Linked DNA regions of Homo sapiens: regions 1 and 3 are each linked to region 2. Evidence: promoter capture Hi-C in human tissues and cell types (Jung and others, 2019). All regions are on one chromosome and are shown on one strand. Each heading gives the region's core, a stretch centred on a gene start or on the middle of the fragment in contact. The rest is flanking DNA. Distances are from core to core; before and after follow the strand shown. Region 1 overlaps COL27A1 (collagen type XXVII alpha 1 chain). Region 2 holds the start of AMBP (alpha-1-microglobulin/bikunin precursor). Region 3 overlaps ZNF618 (zinc finger protein 618).

Evidence for each region. Contacts are between HindIII fragments. The study calls those that stand out against the background at their distance.
Region 1: a contact is called between a fragment that was not itself captured here and the fragment with the promoter of AMBP in region 2, in 1 of the 25 tissues and cell types used here (spleen).
Region 3: a fragment that was not itself captured here is called in contact with the fragment with the promoter of AMBP in region 2 in 2 of the 25 tissues and cell types used here (H1 embryonic stem cells and pancreas).

The regions. Positions count from the first base shown.
Region 1 is chr9:114,255,442-114,259,219 of GRCh38, reverse strand. COL27A1 (collagen type XXVII alpha 1 chain) reads right to left here. Exons shown (of 61, transcript NM_032888.4): 28 at 626-679. Among named protein-coding and RNA genes, the nearest start is that of MIR455, 48 kb to the right of the region's middle. The HindIII fragment of the contact is 4,257 bases long and covers 1-3,572 here.
Region 2 is chr9:114,076,556-114,079,941 of GRCh38, reverse strand. AMBP (alpha-1-microglobulin/bikunin precursor) reads left to right here and starts at 1,642. Exons shown (of 10, transcript NM_001633.4): 1 at 1,642-1,849; 2 at 3,202-3,344. The coding sequence starts at 1,733. LOC107987120 (a long non-coding RNA gene) reads left to right here. Exons shown (of 3, transcript XR_001746905.1): 3 at 1-2. The HindIII fragment of the contact is 16,108 bases long and covers 1-3,386 here.
Region 3 is chr9:113,945,636-113,949,075 of GRCh38, reverse strand. The region is part of intron 1 of ZNF618 (zinc finger protein 618); the gene reads right to left. Among named protein-coding and RNA genes, the nearest start is that of ZNF618, 71 kb to the right of the region's middle. The HindIII fragment of the contact is 6,054 bases long and covers 1-3,440 here.

The DNA.
Region 1 (3,778 bases), core at 195-2,694, 180 kb before region 2:
CGTCCCTCTTTTGACCCTGAGGATACCTAAGCATCCACCTCCTGTATCACCTTCAGGTCTTCCCCTGCCAGTCCCCTGCCAGGAAGCTGGCATCAACTCAAGCACTGCCCTCTCCTAAAGTCCTTCCTTAGTACCCTGCCCAGGTAGGGTCCTCCTCTGGGCTTCCAGGCTGCTAATACTTCCTCAGTCCATGTGCTGATGACCCTGTATTTTATCACCTGCATCTGCCAAGTGGTTTGATTCACTTGTTGACTGGCTCACAAGGGCAGGCAGGGGTTATGTCTGTCCTGTTCACCACTATACCTGTAGAGCCTCCAACAGTGTCCGCCAGACAGTAGGTGCTAAATAAGTGCTGGTTGAATAAATGAATGAACAAAGAACTAGTACCGGAGAGCCCGACTGTGCCTGGTGGATAGCAAGGCTGAGAAATGAGTTGGAAAGAGGGGTGGGGTCCCACCCCTAGAGACAGGTCCAGGGTGAGCCTAGAACCTTGCCTTGTGCTATGAAAGTCACAGATCCCAGAGCTGGGCTAGGGGCAAAGCCCAGGCAGTCTCTGGCAGATGGCCCTGTTCCAAGTGTGCCCCCTCCCACCAGCATCAGCCCCCAGGAGCTGGGCTCGACTTACCCGACGTCCCTTTGCTCCCCTCATGCCTGGTGGGCCTCGAGATCCTGGAGGACCCTGGGAAGAGGAGAAAGAGTTTGGAGAGGCCCCTTTTTAGGAAGTGAGAGCAACACGGGGGGCTGGGAGTGTGGGGCAAAGCTTGAAGGCCTGCAGCCCTCAGACGGGCATGTTCAGAAGCTGCCGGGGCCCCAGCAGCCTCCACATGGAAGGACTGGGCACCTGGCTCACTGGGGAAAGCAGCAGGCGAGCCACAGCCTCGAACACAGCCAATGCCCTGGGCTATAGGGGGATGGGCCTCGACCTTTCCTGGGAGTCTGGGGAGTGGGGATAAGGCCCCCTGCATGACATTTTCTTCTCCTTTTCCTCAAAATCAACAATGAGAAGATACGATGCCATTCATTCATTCATTTATGTATTTATTGAGAGAGGATCTCGCTCTGTGGCCTGGGCTGGAGTGCAGTGCAGCCTTGAGCTCCGGGCTCAAGTGATCCCCCCGCCTCAGCCTCCTGAGTAGCTAGGATTGCAGGCATGCACCATCATGCCCAGCTAATTTTCTTATTTTTGTGGAGACAGGGTCTCACTATCTTGACCAGCCTGATCTCAAACTCCTAGGCTCAAGTGATCCTCCTGCCTCAGCCTCCCAAATTGCTGGGATTACAGGTGTGAGCCACTGCATCCAGACTACAATGACATGTATGACAAAAGGTCTCCTCAAATCCTCATCTCCCTTTTTCTCCCCCACCAGAAAGGAGAATCTGGTGACCCAAGTTCTGTCCCTCACCTCCACCCTGACACCCAATATTTTCCTGAATATTTTCTCCCAGGGAAAAGAGGAGGAGGAAGAACTGAGAACACAGGCCTGGGGTGAGCTTGGGAGGCGGAGAGGGCAGAGTGGGAGAGGATCAAGAAAGAGAGAAGGAGAGGGGAGGCAGAGGCAGAGAAGTGGGTGGGGTGGCATGAGAAGGGAGCAAGGCCCAGCCCCGGGCAAATGGGCAGCCATCTTGGTTTTGATGAACAGACGACAAGAGGGGCAAGAGAGACAGGGTGAGAGGGCCAGTTTAGTTCTTGGAATTCTCGGCACCTGGCCTGGCACAGGTGCACGACAGACACTCAGGAATCTGCTGAATGAACAAGGAGCACATGAACTGAAGAGGGCAGAGGGTGGGAACGGAGGGAACACAGGAGAAGATGGGAAGCAGGCCACCCCTCTGCCTAATGTCTCCCCCGCCCCCACCCCGATTCCAGGCCCAGCTTGAGAGACCTCAAGCAGCAACTTCATCCACCGGCCAGCCAGGACCCTCTGCCAGCTCCAGGAGCCTCCCAGCTCCGCAGCAATTCTCAGACTGGGCGTGCTCCTTTTGCAAGGCAGAGCCAGTCTCATCCCTCCTCTGAATACCAGGGAGAGGCCCAGCCCCATCTGGTGCCTCAGAGCGAACTCTTGACTTTCCCATTTCCCTTTCCCCATGGCTTTGAGGGGTGTGAACCCAGCCGCTATCACCCAGCAGACCCTCCAACAGCTGCTGTGGAGGGGCTGATGTGAGGGGCTGGGTCCCAGGCTGACCCTTCGTCAGTAGAGCAAGCAGGGTGTGGACCCGGGCTTGGCCCCATAAAAGGCAGTTCTGACTCCCGGATGGTGGAGAACAGAAAGACTGGGTGAGAATGGGCCATTTTATAGAGTGATCTCAGAGCTCAGAAGGCATGCAATGCACCGCTGGGAAATTTCGGGAGCCAAGTCTCTACATCAAGGCATAGAGTGCTGAAAAGAGCAGGCTGTAGCACTGGAGAACCCGGGCTCACATGCCAGTTTGGCCACTTACTAATTGTGCCATCTTAGGCACGTTACTTCAACTCACTGGGCCTCAGTTTTGTCATCTATAACATGGGGATAGAAGAGTCCTTACCCCCTAGAGTTTCTAGAAGGTGAAGTGACAAAGTCCTCAGGAAAAGGTAGCTGCCTGCTCTCGCAAGGCAGGAGGAGGTCAGAATTGAATGCTAGACCCAACTCTGGTCACTGGGTGACCCTAGGCAGGTCCCAGGGCGACCCTAGGCAGGTCCCAGGGCCTCACTCCCACCCCCAATAATGGGGATAATAATCTTTTTTTGTTGAGATGGAGTCTTGCTCTGTCGCCCAGGCTGGAGTGCAGTGGCGCTATCTTGGCTCACTGCAAGCTCCGCCTCCCAGGTTCACACCATTCTCCTGCCTCAGCCTCCCGAGTAGCTGGGACTACAGGTGCCCGCCGCCATGCCCGGCTAATTTTTTTCTGTTTTTTAGTAGAGACGGGGTTTCACCGTGTTAGCCAGGCTGGTCTTGATCTCCTGACCTCGTGATCCGCCAGCCTCGGCCTCCCAAAGTGCTGGGATTACAGGCATGAGCCATTGCACCTGGCCTGGGGATAATAATCTTGATAGATCTCAATGTGCTATCGGACAACATGGAGGTGAAAGTGATTGATAAAGTGGGAAAATGCCAATCAGGTGTGAACAATATCACCAGAAATGTCACTTTTAATCGTAGTAGCCTTACTCATAATAGTGGCAATGATCATCTCTAACAAATAGTTATCACCATTCATGAAGCACACAGTTATGCAGGAGGGCTGTGAGACACCACATCATGCACTGCACCATTTCCGATGACAATCTCATACTCCAGGTGGCATCATGCTGACTTACAGATGGGGAAACTGAGGGTCGGAGAAGCTATGAATGTTGCCAACAATCCCGCAGCCGGCAAGTCGGGGAGCCAGAATTTCACCCCCATGTATCTGATTCTGAAGGTGGTTTTCTGGGCCTCCGAGCTAGCCGGCTTCCCCAGTGTCGCTGGCCAGGAGGAACCCCAAGAGATCCAAGGGACCAGCCCTGTACCGTAGCAGTGGGGGACCATGGCAACCTTGGGATCAGAAACAGCAGTAAGTGACCGTCTGATTTCACCAAGCCTGAGCCAACCCACTGAAGAGGGGGAAGCACTGAGGAGATGGGGTGGGGTGGGGAGGTGAGTGGAGCCAGGGAGGCAAGGGATTCAGAGGAGGCTTGCACCTTCTTCTCTGTATTGGCCTGAATATCCCCACTCTTTCCCCATCTCCCGCTGGCCTTCCATTGTGTCCCAGTGACTCCTTTCCTGGCTTTCCTCCTCCCACTAGACAGATGGGGAGACAG
Region 2 (3,386 bases), core at 393-2,892:
GTGGCTTACGCCTGTAATCCCAGCACTTTGGGAGGCTGAGGTGAGAGGATCACCTGAGGTCAGGAGTTAGAGACCAGTCTGGCCAATATGGTGAAACGCTGTCTCTACTAAAAATACAAAAATTAGCCAGGCATGGTGGTGGGCACCTGTAATCTCAGCTACTCGGGAGGCTGAGGCACAAGAATCACTTCAGCCCAGAATGTGGAGGTTGCAGTGAGCCGAGATCGCACCACTGCACTCCAGCCTGGGCGACAAGAGTGAAACTCCGTCTCAAAATAATAAATAAATAAATAAAACCTTAAGTTTAATAACTACTGTATTAGTTTCCTAGGGCTGCTAGGAAATGTGTCTTCTCTCAGCACTGGAGGTCAGACACCTGAGACCAAATTTTCAGCAGAGCCATGTTCCCTTTGAAGATTCTGGGGAAAAGTCCTTCCTTGCCTTTTGCTAGCTTTTGGTGGCTGCCATCAATCCTTGGTGATTTTTGACGTGTCACTGCATCCCTCCCATCTCTGCCTTCGGCGTCACGCCACATCTTCCCCGTGCTTCTCTCTGTGTCCCTGTGTCTGAGTCTCCCTCACCATTCTCTTATAAAGATACCGGTCATTGGATTTAAAACCCCTGTCATCCAGTTCAACCTCATCTAACTAATCACATCTGCAAATCAGGTTCATTCTGCGGTTCGGGGTGCACATGGATTCTGGAGGGGGCACTGTTCAACCCACCACAAACACTCAGCTCTTACTCTATGCTGGGTACTGTCCTAGCGCATTGCAGGTGCTCACTCAACAATGCTAGGAGCTAGGAACTATTATTATCCCCATTTACAGATGAGGAAACCAAGGCACTGAAAGGTAAAGTGACTTGCCCAAGGTCACACAGCAGTGAGTGCCACTGTAGGCTGCCTGGCTCCCACGTCCATGGTCTCTACCACGCCTTTCCCAGCTACTCCACTCCCGGCTGAGGGATTCTGGGCAAGTCACTTCACTTCTTGGAGACTCAACTCCTCTGCCTGTAAAGGGGACAAATAGCACCTACTTCGTAAGCTTGTTGTGGGGATTTACTGGACACCTGTGGCACGTGTAAAGTGCCTGGTACACAGCCAGCACATAGCAGGTGCTCAGTGAACGGAAGCTCGTAACAGTCATCATTGTTAATGTCTCTATTATTTGCAAAGGCTAGGGCAAGCCTGGGGGCTGGAGAAGGAACTCTGGAGACAGGATACCTGGGTTCTGGTCTTGGCTCTGCCCATAGACTTCCCTGAGGTCTCTGGCAAGTCACTTCCTCTCCTTGGGCCTCAGTTTTTTCCTGTGAGAAATGGGCCCAATCAGGCTTGACCTGCTGGCTCACAGAGCTGTGAGGTCCAGATGGCATGACTCAGCAGAAAGGCCAGGTCGCTCCCCATCCTCGCATGCCCTCTGTGGGGGACTTTTGGGGGGCGGAGCCCAATCCTGGTGCTCCAGGGCCCTATTGTGCTTGGCCAATGCCTCTTCTGAAGCAGCCATCCCGGCCTCTTGGTACTGCTGACCCCAGCCAGGCTACAGGGATCGATTGGAGCTGTCCTTGGGGCTGTAATTGGCCCCAGCTGAGCAGGGCAAACACTGAGGTCAACTACAAGCCACAGGCCCCTTCCCCAGCCTCAGTTCACAGCTGCCCTGTTGCAGGGAGGCGGTGGCCCTTCTGTTGCTAGACCGAGCCTGTGGGATATACCAAGGCAGAGGAGCCCATAGCCATGAGGAGCCTCGGGGCCCTGCTCTTGCTGCTGAGCGCCTGCCTGGCGGTGAGCGCTGGCCCTGTGCCAACGCCGCCCGACAACATCCAAGTGCAGGAAAACTTCAATATCTCTCGGGTAAGGCTGCCGCTCTCTGTGGTAGGGTGGATGTGGTGATGGGGAGTCCAGGCAGATGGGCCCTGCTGGGCAAGTGCGGCCTGTCTCGGGGTCTCAGGCTTCCACTCAGATCATCTGGGATTATGGGATCCTTTGAAGGTACAGCTCTATCCCCTGCCATTCCGTGGGTCTCTTGGCTGACATTCTATGAGTCAAACATCCTCACCTTCTGCACTGTCCTCGTGGGCTCCAAGGGGAACCCTTGTGTTAATGGGAACCTGCTCCAGAGAAGGCTTTGTCCTGCCTGCCACTGCCCTGCAGCCCCCGTGCAGACACCTAGCTTTGCCCAGACCTCCCAGCCCTTCCTTCTCTAATGACTCCCCTCTCTCTGTGGCATCTTTCCCTTAGCTCTTCCTGTGTCCCCTGCCCACATCCTGGCCTGACTGTGGACAGACACCTGGGGTGGCACAGCGTGGGCATGTGGCCAGCAGCTTTTGGGTTGGGCATGTGGGGCTTATGGGAAGAGGTGAAGCAGGACAGAGATTAGGGTTGGGAGACATTCAGAGGCTTGGGCACAAGGAGAGACCTGGACTGGGGCAGGACACTCTCCTGTGAGTGTGGAGTGCCAGAGCTGCCTTCCAGCCCCCACTCTGCCCTAAATCCCGGGGTGGCTTTGAGAATACCCTTGCCCACCTGGGGCTGTCTCCATGTCTGTATGAAGGGTCTCAGAACCTTCTAGCTGTGGTGTCATGTGGGTTTTGTTTACTTTTAGGGACAAGGAAAGGTCGTGGCAGAGGGGCAATGAGGAGCAGGTCCCTGTGGCAGTCTGGGACGCAAAGGGTGTGGGGCACATTGGCCTGTTCCGTAGGAGCCTGAGGGCTCCTTCAGCTGTCCCGTGCACTTTCAGGAGGAAGAGGAAGCAGGCCTATCCTGAATGACCCCATCATGTTCATTATACTTTTGAAATAATTCCTAACATGGGGCTGTGGGCTGCCTTGCAAGGTGGGGAGCACCCCATCATTGGAGGAGTAAAAGACAGGACTCCAGCTCTTGGGGAGCAGTGGTTGATGGAGCTATGGACAGATCCCACATCTTGAGAGAGTTAGCCCTTCTGCAGGGCAGGTTGGGACCCCAGCCGCACACCTGCTTCCTGGGTTCGCTGTGATGCCTGAAACGCCACTCTTAGGGATCTGGCCTCCCTTGAAGGTGTGTGGCCTCTGATTAGTTGTAAGACATTATCCCTTAAAAGGATAAGTCATTTTGAGGAGAAGGAGGAGGAAGAGGAGGAGGTGGAGGGTGGGGAGCAGATGTCAGCCAGGTCTGCTTTGAGGTCTGAGACTGATGCAGACCCCCAGAGCTCACCTGCCTCCTAGATCTATGGGAAGTGGTACAACCTGGCCATCGGTTCCACCTGCCCCTGGCTGAAGAAGATCATGGACAGGATGACAGTGAGCACGCTGGTGCTGGGAGAGGGCGCTACAGAGGCGGAGATCAGCATGACCAGCACTCGTTGGCGGTGAGCACTAGGGTGGGGCTGGAAAGCTGAGAGAGACCCAGA
Region 3 (3,440 bases), core at 33-2,532, 130 kb after region 2:
GGACTGATGACCGGGAAGACATGCATTCAAGCTTCATCTCTGAAACTTACAGGCTGAGTAAATAGGCAGAGATCAACTGCCCACCGTCCTTGAGTTCCCCCTTTTGGGAAGAAGCGGGAGAACAGATGATCTCATAGCAAACTCCCAGTTTCAAAATGCAGCAAAGCAGGAACCTTCCCCACCAAGCTGGTAAGTGCAGAAATAATGCCATCAACAGATCTGACCCTGGGTATACATCTCATCTGTGGGGTGGGGGGCACTGCTTTCTTCCTGTTATTACCAGCGCTGCCTTCTGTAGCCACCACCACAACATCAGGGACTCCCACTGCTTCAACATCAGGGACTCCCACTGCTTCCCCAACACGGCTGGCTCCTCGCACAATGGCTGGCACATTTTGGGCCCTCAAAAATATGTGGATGGACGAGTGGCACAAAACAGGCACTTAACTGGCAGCTACCAGGCACATCCAGTTAAATAACACATGGCCTTTTAATCCACTAACTTTTGATTAAAAACATCTCAGCTTTACAGGGCCTCCAGAATCTTTCTAGAGCCTTCTAACTCCCATGGCTACAGGCTTCCTCTGATGCAACAACTGCAAAGCTGTGAGGCCCAAAGCCTTGCCCATTCTCTTGAAGGCCCTGATATATTCCACAGAAAAGTGTGAGGATCTGGATTTCCAGAGAAGACTCAGGGGCACGAGGTGGGAAATGTCATCTCTGCTTTCCTGCCCTATTCCGCCTTCTGACTAGCGAGTGCCTAGAAACTTAGAACTGTCATATTCCAGGTCTCAGGGCTGCCTGGGAGGAATCAGTTCTGCCTGGTTTTCTGCGTTTTACCCATCCAGGGTTGACAATGGCGATGGAGTATGCTTGAGGCCCTCAGTACAAAGGGAGTGAAAATTCCACCGCTCCATTTATGAGGTCGCACTGCATGTATGACCCACAGCAGAAAGACTCATTGAAATCCAATAAAGATGAGGGCGGGGGAGGCTGCTCTGTTCCCAGAGAGGCCAACAGCATCTCTTCCATGCAATCTACCCAGCTCTGCCATTGACTGAGGAAAAAACAAGCTGCCATTCTGATGCTCTTTGTCAAGAGTGGCAACATGGCGACCAAAGGGATGGCCTGGACCTCCCCTCTCCCTCCCATTCTTCTAGGCCTGCAACTTAAAAGGACTTCAAAGTCTGAGGCAGCTGTGGTTTTCTTGCACGGAGAAGAGGGGAAGAAAGAGAATAAAAATTTTATTTCCAATAAAACACAACAATAGAGCTGCGGCACTTGTTTTTCTAGTTGAGACTCTTATTGGCTGCTTTCACATTCTAAAAGGCTGGGGGAGACCTCGAACCAGCTCGGAAGCCTCCACACCAGGGCTGGTCTGGCCTCGGGGAAATACAGACAGCCTCATCCCAAGGGGTCTCCCGAAGGCCTGACTCTGAGCTTGTAAAACGCAGGACAGAACTCTCAATTCAGCTCAGTTCAGTTCAACAGTCATTAAGAATCAGAGGCACATGGCTGTAGGAGCTGGAAGGTTCCGGTAGGGGTCTGTGTGTCAGGCCCTGTGCAGGACTTTGGGGACTTCAGTAATAAGATGGACATCTCAAGGAACATGTTAGCAGGAGGACCTGGCTGGTGTCATATGTCATGAGTACATTATAATTATTCCCACCATCACATGTGCTCAGCAGTGTACTAAACACTCTACACGCATGCCTCTTCATGGTAATGCTGTGGAGTAAGTATTCTTATCTCAATTGTCCAGAGGAGGAAACTGAGAATTACTGAGATTAAATATCTTGCTCAGGTGAAGGAGCCCAGGTTCAAATCCAGCTCTGATTCCAAAATCCCCTGGACGATCCCAGCCAACCAGTGTAGAAAGGATTCACTAAAGAGCCCCAAGACAGATTCTTTGTCGAGAGCACCAAATTGCTTCATTCTGCAAACCTTCCCTGAGCCCCTCCTCTGCAGCAGGCTCCGCAAGCTCATGACTTCTGTCAATGGTGGTGCTGGATAACAACAGGCCTCCACTCAGAAGGGGACAGGGGAGATGCTGTCTGTGTCGTCCCCAAAACAGAACACAGATTTAAGAACCAAAGACAGTGAGGAGGAGGCAGGCTTTCCCAGAACCACCTCAAATGGAATGGGCTGCAGGGAACATGTGGGTGAGCCCAACTGGAAACAAGCAAACACCTGTCAGGAATTCTGTAGCAGAGATGGCATCAGGAAGGGTCCTGGGAATAACCAGCCACTAGGCTCCCTTGCAGCTCTGCAAGGACAGATGAGTCCAAGAACATGAGATCCCCAACTTGCCTGCTGCCATTTCCAGCACATAAACACACACACTCCCGTCTACATCCTGCGAGGGGTACTTTCACAGCCCCTCTCAGAGAGGAGGCAAAAGACGCACACAGACACTCACTCTTCAGCGGTGATGCTGATTAACATCGCAGCTTGCCCCCTACCTCGCACTGGTAATTACACGCTGGGTCAGGGCCGAGTCCCTTCCTCTAGGTGCGGTGTCTGCCATCAGGGGCATAAAGGTGGGATGTCTTGAAGGAGTGAAGGGCTGCCTGCCTCTGTGAACTCAAGAGAAGTCCCAGGACTCCCCATTTCCTTGGAAAATAGTTTCTAGACTTGTCACCAATAAATTGCCTGCATCTTTTTTTTTTTTTTTTTTGAAGACTTCCCCCACTTCACTAATTGCATTCACTGCCTTTTTCTCCATAAATTTAATTAACTTGCTATGTGACCTTGGGCTAGGCAAGCCACCGCCCCTCTTTAAACTCAGTTTCCCTCTCCATAAAATGAGAATGGGGCTGTAATTTCTTGAAGCCCCGAAAGCTTTAACACCCCAGGTTTCCGTGAGGGGGCTAAGCCTGTGGCCTTGATATTCCTGGCTGCTTTGGCCCAGGGGGCTCCGCAGAGCGCCAAGACCATCCTGCTCTGAACAGCTCTTGGCCCTGACAGTGGTGCTGGCTCTCAAGGCCTTGCATTATTCTAGAAGAAAAGGCAGGACAGCCTAACTTGGCGAGGTCCTCTTTGTCCCCGATGGAGCCTCAAAGCTCAAATTTGCCTCCAGCATTTCAGCAAAGCCGCCAGTCCCTGGGAGTAGCAGAGACTCCAGATCAGGGACTGGATCAAGAGCATAAGCGTGAGGCTGAAATTGTAATAATAATAACTGACATTTATATCACGCCTTTCATCCCCAAATCCCAAATTAATTAACTTTTTACGAGACATTTTTAAACTAGTGCCATTTAATAAAATTCTATTAGGAAAAGTCTTTTTTTCTCCCCCCAGCCCTATATTTTTATTAACAGCCACCAAAAATATAATTTACAGGCAACCAAAAGCCAGTCAAGGCAGGGACAGGGAGAGGCTGACTCTGCCAACGACAAAGCAGGAGACCCAGGACTGGCCACAGGGGCTGACGCCCTAGC